Linked DNA regions of Homo sapiens: all the other regions are linked to region 1. The links are contacts of gene promoters, found by promoter capture Hi-C in blood cells and fetal thymus (Javierre and others, 2016). All regions are on one chromosome and are shown on one strand. Each heading gives the region's core, a stretch centred on a gene start or on the middle of the fragment in contact. The rest is flanking DNA. Distances are from core to core; before and after follow the strand shown.

Region 1 (2,700 bases), core at 82-2,581:
CAGGCGTGAGCCACCGCGCCCGGCCACCAAATCCATTTTGAGGGGCCAGTGACAAGTTCTTTCAGAGGGAGATAACCCTACATCACTTTTTTTTTTCAGAGCCAATGACACCATACCTTAGAACAATTATTAAAAAAGTATAACCTTAGATCCATATTCTGTAGGAAACTGTGACCTACCCTGCTCCATTCCATTTTTGTTAAAGGAGACACACCAAGCCATGTATTTTAAAACATGGACTATGGACTTGGTTTGAAGGATATGCTGACTCCCAATGTCTTTATATCTAAAAGGCAGTAACTATTAATTCTCACCATTGGCAGTACAGCTCAACAAGATTTAGGGTGGGTAATGATGCCAGGTCTTGGTTTTAATAGGGAAGATGATCTGAGTACCAGGTTTGGAAAGCCTGGCCCTATTCTTTGGGGACAAAACACAGTAACCTCAAAGCCCTGCTTCTAAGTGATATTCGCTCCAAATCCCCATCTTCTGAAGGACAGGGAATGCAGATCCCTCTTTTTCGGGGTTGGTCTTATTCTTGTTCTCTTAGGAGACAATAACCCTAGATCCCCATTTGCAAGCGACTGTGACCTCTGATCCAATATTATAATGAATAGCAACATCAGATACCTGTTCTTAAGGCTCAAGGACCCAAGACCTCAATAATGGAAGAACAGAGACTTGTAACCCGTTTCTTTAAGTGTTAGTAATTCTGATCCACGAGTAATTCTGATCTCCAAGAGATGGTAACCCCAAGACTCCTTTTCCTGGGAGGAAGAGGGCTCGGATCCCCGGTATGGGGAGGCACAGTGACCTCGAGCTCCTATCTAAGCACATGAAAGAATCTGATGGATGTCTGAGGAGCTTTGGGAACCCTAATCACCACCCTACACGGGCGCCACTAGTACTCACGGCCCAGCTTCACCCCGGGCGGCGGGAAGCTAGTGCCTGCGCCGGGGCCTCCGCTGCCTCCTCCGCCGCTGCCGCCGGGTCCACCCCCGGAGCTCGAGGCCCCGACGCCCCCACCCATGGCCCCGACAGATGCCTTTCCGCCGCCGGTGCCGCCTGGGCCGGAGGCCGAGCCTCCGGGGCCGCCGCCGCCTCCTCCGCCTCCGCCGCCGGGCTCCGCGAACGAGCTAGTCCGCGCCCTGCCCGAGCCCCCAGGGCCGCCTCCCGAAGGCCCGCCGCCGCTCATGGCGCCGAGCACAGGCCCAGGCTGCGGGGCTCGGGCTGCCCGGGCTGCCCCAGCCGCCGCCGCTGCCGCCGCCTCCCCCGGGCCCTGGCCTCTTCCAGGCCGCGCCGCTCTGGCTTGGGCTCCGGCTCCGGCCCAGCGCCCGCCGCGGGGCACGCCGGGAGATGCAGTCCGGCTGTCGTCCGCGCCGCCGTCACCGCCCTCGGCCCGCACAGAGAGCCGCGTGGCACGCCGGGAAATGAAGTCCACAAAAGCCTCAGAGTAGACCGCGGGAATGATGGGCGGGAATGACGGGTCACGCTGTACGTCGGGAAATGGAGTCCAGGGTAATCTGTCAGCCGACTGTACGACGGGGAGCCCTGAAGCACTTTAGGAAGCAGAGAGCCTGATGCACGCTGGGAAACGGAGTCCACTCACTCAGTCTATTAGCTGTGTATGCCTCCCAGAGCTCGGTGCGCTCTGGGAAATTGAGTCGGCCCGCGTGAACCTGCGGGTCTCGGGCCGTGAGGCAAGCCGGGAAATGGAGTCGTCGCCACGCCCTCACCGCATTGCAGGTGTAAAGCGATTTTTAAAGCACGCCGGGAAATGGAGTCTCAGGTGGTTTTTAAGCCCCAGGTGGATACTGCAGTTCCGGAGATGGGCGAGGAAATGGAGTAGGTTTACGCGCTCCTCTTTCCAGGTACGCTGGGCCGCAGTCCCTGCCGGGAAGTGTAGTCAGCACCAAGGCCTCAGTGCAGTTGCCACAGCGAGCCCTGGTGTGTTCTGGGAAATGGAGTTCGACGTATCCTCCCCATTGACTGAGGGGGCGGGATCGCCCATGAGCTCCAAGCATGCTGGGGAATAGTCCAGACCTGACCCTCTGTGAGGCCAGTCTGCGGAGGCTTGCCGGGAAGCGAAGTCCAATGGCCACCATCAGGGGCGTGTGAACGAAAGGTTAGAGACTGCGGCAGTTCCCTGGAGAGACTTAAAAGTGTTTCAGCGCCTCCTTCCTCGCCCCCAGGTCCTTCTTTAAGAAAGAGCCGAGGTCGATCAAGGACTGCTGGAAAATGGATCCAAGCACCTTTAAGTTCCAGGTGACCATAGATCAGGAAAGAAAAAATGTCCCCTCTCTAACCGCAACTCTGCAAAGATTCGGGAAACAAAGTTCCCGGCGGTTTCTCAGAACACTAACTAGTCTTCGGATACAGTCTAGCTTTTCCTAGCAATGTGGTTCGCACCAGGAAGCTGAATGGAGCATTAAAAAGACGGAAATGTCATTTCTGGGCCTGGCGCTGTGGCTCAGGCTGGGCGCCAGTAGCTCACGCCTGTAATCCTAGCACTTTGGGAGGCCGAGGCTGGCGGATCATCCGAGGTCAGGAGTTCGAGACCAGCCTGGCCAACATAGCGAAACCCCCGTCTCTACTAAAAGTACAAAAATTAGCCGGGTGTGGTGGCGGGCGCCTGTAATACCAGCTACTCAGGAGGCTGAAGCAGGAGAATCGCTTGAACCCGGGAGGCATAGGTTGCAG
Region 2 (2,700 bases), core at 57-2,556, 150 kb before region 1:
CCAGAGCAGAGGAGGGTGACAGGGTTGAGGAGGGACTTGTGAGAGCTAGAACTTGGCAAAATGGCCTAGCCCACCCTTCAAAGGGGAAAAGAGGGAGGAACAGGGGATGAAAAGTTGTCCGCAGGCCTTCCCTTGAACTCTCCCCTGCTGGGGGGAGGGAGGAGGTTAAAGCAAGACCCCCTGCCCAGGTGGGGAGAGCTGGGGGCCAGGGGAGAAGGGGACACATGGTAGGGACACATTCTGTTGAGCACAATGCTAAAAATTCTGTACATCCTTTGGATGAAGCTACTGAATATTTGGTGTAAGGTTGTTCAGGCCCTTTCTCTTTCACCTTCTGGAAAAGAACATTTGGTGGGTGGTGCTAAGCCCCAGCCCATCTGCCCAGGCTGTGCCCTGTCTTCGCTGGCCCAGGGCTGGGGGCTGGGATTAGGAAGCTGGCATCTTCTCTTTTTCCTTCTGTAGCCCCCACGGGGGAGGCAGGGTTGGGGGTTGGTCCCACAGCCAGGGCTCGGTGGCATGAGGTCTGACCTGCTGGAGGCTTCTCCGCCCCTGGCTGGGGTTTTTATTTGGCGTCGTAGCAGTGAGGGTGAGCACGCTGAGGTCTGGCTCGCGACTGGTTTTTTGGTTTGTTTGATTTTGTGGGTTTTTTTTTTTTTTGGTTTGTTTTTGGTTTTTTTTTGTTTGTTTTTCACCTCTGGTTCCTTTGGGGCAGCTGGTTTCTGTTGTGATTATTTTTGGTTTTCTCTTTTGTTGGTTAGTTTCTTTCCTTTTTTTTTTTTTTTTTGGTTGGTTGTTTTTTTGGTCTTTCCTCCCTTGTCACTCCTGCTCTGAGGACCCTCTGCGTCCCCACCACTGGCCTCCTCGCCCTCTTCCCAGGCAAGGGACCAAGGCAGGGACCAGAGGAATGGGAGGGGAGGCATGGCTGGCCCTCACTCAGGTTTGGACCCTGCCTCGGGCCCCCCTGGACCTCCAGGGGTCTGTGCTGCCGTCTCGCTGCAAGTGGAGGAGGAGGAGGATGAGGATGAAGAGGATGAGGAGGAGAGGCCAGGAGACTTGCTGGAGATGGAGGCTGCCACAGCCGCAGCCGCTGCTGAGACCAGGCCCACACCAGGCGGGGTGCTGAGCAGGGGCAGCCCAGCATGATTCAAGAAGAGCGGCGAGGTCACCAGGCCAGGGCTCCCCGGGGCTGCACCGGCTGCCCCCAGCACCAGATTCCCGCTGCCATCAAGGCTGGTAAGGGGCAGGGTTCCACCAGAGGCCAGGGCTGGCGGGGAGAGAGAGAGGCTGGGCTAAGGGCATGCCGGGCCAGGGGAGACCTTTGCCTTCCAGCATCCTGCCCAGAGTGCCCCCCATCTCCCCATCGGTCCCACTGACCCCCATCAGCACCCCTCACACCTTCCCCAAAGGTGAGATGGGTATGAAGAGGCAAGCAATGCAGTGAGCAGGGGCAGGATGGCATGGCTGGAGCAGCAATGGCAGGGCTCGAGGCCCCAGAGGATAGGGCTGGTGACGATGGGTGTGACATGAGGCAGCACGCACCTTGGATAGTGGCCAAAGGGTTGTTGCTCATGAGGGCTGGACTCAGCCCGGAGCTCAACCCCACCATTGTGCTTCTGCAAGAGGCAAAGCAGAGGCATTAGCAGGGGCAGGGACCTGCCAACATAACTGGGGTGCCGCTCCCCACCCTAGAAGCAGCAGCGACCCTGCTTCTCCCCACAGCTTCCCACGTGCACCCACTTACCCCGTGCTGGGGTTCAGGCCTGACAAGCCGATAGCCGAGTGGCTGCCTTGAGGGCTGGGGTTTGTGCTGTTGGTGGTGGCCGGGGGTGGGGGAGTGACAGAGGGGATGGAATTGAGGGGGGGCGCAGCCCCGCCCCCGCCCCCACCCCCTCCAGCTGTCCGGCTGGGGTGGAGCGTCCCCACAGCTGAGGATAAGGTAGTAACTGCCAGAGAGAGACAGAAAGATGGGGTCTTCAGCTTCCACTCGTCCCCCACTGAGGAACCTGGGGTCAGCTCCTACTTGTCCTCCCGCCCAGCTCACGCAGCATCTCCTCAGTCAGAACAGCCTTAGACCTCCCTGCCCTCTCTTCCCAGAGTCATTTCCCTGTGCCTCTGCCATGGTGACCCCTGTCATAACAATGGAAGTCAGAGCAGGTGCTTCCTGCTGAGCCCTGGCACTCTACACTCCCTGCCCTGAACCACTTTTTTACCGACTAGAAACGGGGGTGCCCAGGAGACAAAGCCCTATGGCTCCCTCTAGGGGCTGGGGAGGGGCGAAGGGTGCCAGGCACACTGCCACATCTGAGGGATGGGCAACCTGGCAGGGGCTGAGGGCCCAGACTCAGCCAGACTGCTGGGGTAGAAACTCCTGGCTCTGTCTCATCCCAGTGGTGCCCTTGGGTGAGTGCCTTAACCTCTCTGACCTTCAGATCCCTTGTCTGGAAAATGGGGATAATAATAGACCCTATCTCATAAAATGAGTTTGAGAATTAAGTCAGTCAATGCAGTTTAGAAAGAGTTTAGTACAGTGCCAGGCAAGCACTTACTACTTTATAAATCTCCACTTACTATTTTCTAGCCTGGGGAGGGGCAACGTGTTGTTTTATGTGTATATATATTATGTGTATATATATTATGCATATATATATTATGTGTGTGTGTATATATATATATATATATATATTTTTTTTTTTTTTTTTT
Region 3 (2,700 bases), core at 161-2,660, 200 kb after region 1:
CATGAGTCCATGCTGATATAAATAAATAACTGAACAAATAAATAAATAAGGAAGAGGCTAGGCATGGTGGCTCACGCCTGTAATCCCAGCACTTTGGGAGGCCAAAGTGGGGGGATCACTTGAGGCCAGGAATTAGAGACCAGCCTGGCTAACATGACAAAACCCCGTCTCTACTAAAAATACAAAAATTAGCTGGGTGTGGTGGTGTCTGCCTGTAGTCCCAGCTACTCAGGAGGCTGAGGTGGGAGGATCGCTTGAGCCCAGAAGGTGGAGGCGGCAGTGAGCCAAGATCACACCACTGCACTCCAGCCTAGGCAACAGAGCAAGACTCTATCTCAAAAAAAAAAAAAAAAAAAAAGAAAAAGAAAAAGGAATAACTCTTTCTTATGGCAGAATTCCGATTAAATAAATGTAGAAGGAACAATGGAAGTAGAAAATCACTATTTGGCCAACACCACAGTAATAATTCTTTATAGGAAACAATCATCCATAGATTCTAAAAGTTAATATTAAAAGTATGATGATGCCATAACTGGTGAATAACAAGAAAAAAAAAAGTATGATGAGAAGAAACAGGCTATTTACATATTTCCAAAGTGTCTCTCCACAAGATACTTATTAATTACAATAAGATGAATAGTAACTTTACAGTAGAGAAACCTGGCAGACACCACCTGAACCAAGTGCTTAAAGTGAACCTCATCAGTAATGAGAGATATCGACATCCTGGGGCTCTTGCTGGGATGTCCAGAGAAGGATACATCACTTCTGAAGTATTCTTGCCCAAAATGTGTAGCCGGAAATATCAGACAAACCCATATTCAGGGGGCATTCTACAAAACAACTGGCTAGAACTCTTCAAAAGTGTCAAGGTCCTGAAAGAGAGGGAAAGACTGAGAAACTATCCCAGGTTGGAGGAGACCTAGGAGATCTGACATTTTATTCAGTGGGATCCCAGATTGGAGTCTGGAGCAGAAAAAGGACATGAGTGGGATGATTAGCAAGATTTGAACATTTGTAGATTAGTTAATATTATGGTATCAGTGCTAATCTCCTGGTTTTGATAATTGTATTATGGTTACATAAGATATTGTTTGAAAACAATTGGATGAAGGCTGTACTGGAACTCTATTTTTACAATATTTTTCAAAGTCTGAAAAATGAAAAGTAAGAAAAAGTAAGAAATGCATTAGATTTGTGAGGACAAATGAGATAGTAAGTGTGAAGTGATTAGAACAATGCTTGTGATATAGGAGTTCTTAATGTGTCTGATATTATAAGTAATTTTATAATTAAATAATATTATAATTAATGAATAATCTGTTATTTTAAGTAATTTATTTCCTAATGACCTCATATATTCTCACTTATTTCTATTTCCCTTAACCCTGTGAAAAGCATATTGAGCATGTATGTGATTAAGAGATAAAATAAGATTAGACTTTATTCTGAGATTTATTTTGGGGATGGAGGAGCTATTATTTCCTTTAGCCACTAAGTAGCTCAGACTCAGGCCTGCACTGCAAAACTTTGCTTGGCTGGGAAACAAGATTTGAGCCCGGCCGCCACCCACTCGACGTGGTTTGTGATGGCGCCCCCTGGTGGCGCAGGGAGCTTTCCCCAGTTCCTCACCCTCGTGCTTTAGGAGCGACTTAGAAACTACTCAGTCCATTTATTAAACCCTTTCTAGGACACGCTGCGGATCATTTAATCTTCACAAGTGTGTGTGACAAGTGGTATTTTCTTCATTTTAAGATGATAAAACTGAAACTCAAAAAAGTGAGGCGACTTGTCTAGGGTTGCAAAGTGTGTGGCAGAGCCAGGATCTAGGTCCCCCTGACTTCCAAGCTGAGTGTAAAGGTCTAGGTGAGTCTAAAAGTGTGGCCATGCAGAGAAGTATTGGTGTAGAGCAGTGGTTGTTGACCAAGGGTGGTTCCCCCTCCGGGGTCATTTGGCGATGTCTAGAGATATTTTTGGCTGCCATAACAGGGGTTTGGATGAGGGAGAGGGGAGGCTGCTATTGGCATGTAGGGGAGAGAGGCCACGCGGATGCTGCTGAACATCTCACAATACACAGAACAGCCCCCACCGCAAGGAACTGTTCAGCCCAAATGTCAGTAGAGCTGCTATGAAGCCCTGGTTTGATTTAGCAACCTGAGGATGCATTCTTGCAGTTAGCTAATGTTTGCTGAGTACTGAGCTGGATAGCGTGAGGGATATGGAAACAGTGCACCAGTCTGTGTCACCAAGTAGTTTGCAGCCTAGAAGGACAGGGGGTGGGGGCAGGAAAGGCACATGAAGGCCCTCAATATAAGGCAGCAGATGATAAGTGCAAGAAGAGAGTGTCCAGCAGGGCTAAGCCAGCGCTCAGGAGGGAGACCACATGTCTGGCTGTGGGAGGAACTGAAGGAAGCTGTGGGAAGGTGGTTTTGAGCTGGGTGTGTGAGCAAAGTTGAACTGGTGGAAAAACACAATACCTGTTCAGGGAAGGGCAAACAGGTTAGTTTGGTTGGAGAAATAGTATTTTTAGTGAGTAGAGGGAGGTACACTAGAAAGGCAGGTTGGGGCTACAGCTTTGAATCCAGGCAGAGGACTCTAGCCTGGGTGTCTGTCATAGTGATGGAAAAGTCTTCCCTTTCAGAACAGTGGTCTAGGCCCTAGGGCTATGGGGCTTAACAGCTTCCAGAGCACTCTCTCTAC

The links. Contacts are between HindIII fragments. The CHiCAGO score rates a contact against its expected background, and 5 or more counts as called.
Region 2: a fragment that was not itself captured here is called in contact with the fragment with the promoter of GSK3A in region 1 in 5 of 17 cell types (total B cells, monocytes, activated CD4 T cells and 2 more); the score reaches 8.7 in total B cells.
Region 3: a fragment that was not itself captured here is called in contact with the fragment with the promoter of GSK3A in region 1 in 3 of 17 cell types (neutrophils, naive CD4 T cells and M2 macrophages); the score reaches 8.7 in neutrophils.

Annotation. Positions count from the first base shown.
Region 1 is chr19:42,241,271-42,243,970 of GRCh38, forward strand. GSK3A (glycogen synthase kinase 3 alpha) reads right to left here and starts at 1,332. Exons shown (of 11, transcript NM_019884.3): 1 at 913-1,332. The coding sequence starts at 1,195. RefSeq lists silencers at 874-1,153, 1,184-1,393 and enhancers at 1,684-1,893, 1,823-2,617, 1,954-2,003, 2,618-2,700. The HindIII fragment of the contact is 12,371 bases long and covers 1-2,700 here.
Region 2 is chr19:42,090,328-42,093,027 of GRCh38, forward strand. POU2F2 (POU class 2 homeobox 2) reads right to left here. Exons shown (of 15, transcript NM_001394376.1): 13 at 1,742-1,943; 14 at 1,540-1,613; 15 at 1-1,264. The coding sequence ends at 930. Among named protein-coding and RNA genes, the nearest start is that of ZNF574, 16 kb to the left of the region's middle. The HindIII fragment of the contact is 4,433 bases long and covers 1-2,700 here.
Region 3 is chr19:42,438,917-42,441,616 of GRCh38, forward strand. All of the region lies in intron 1 of CXCL17 (C-X-C motif chemokine ligand 17), which reads right to left. The region is part of intron 1 of LIPE-AS1 (LIPE antisense RNA 1); the gene reads left to right. Among named protein-coding and RNA genes, the nearest start is that of CXCL17, 2.7 kb to the right of the region's middle. RefSeq lists a silencer at 1,459-1,548. The HindIII fragment of the contact is 3,145 bases long and covers 1-2,700 here.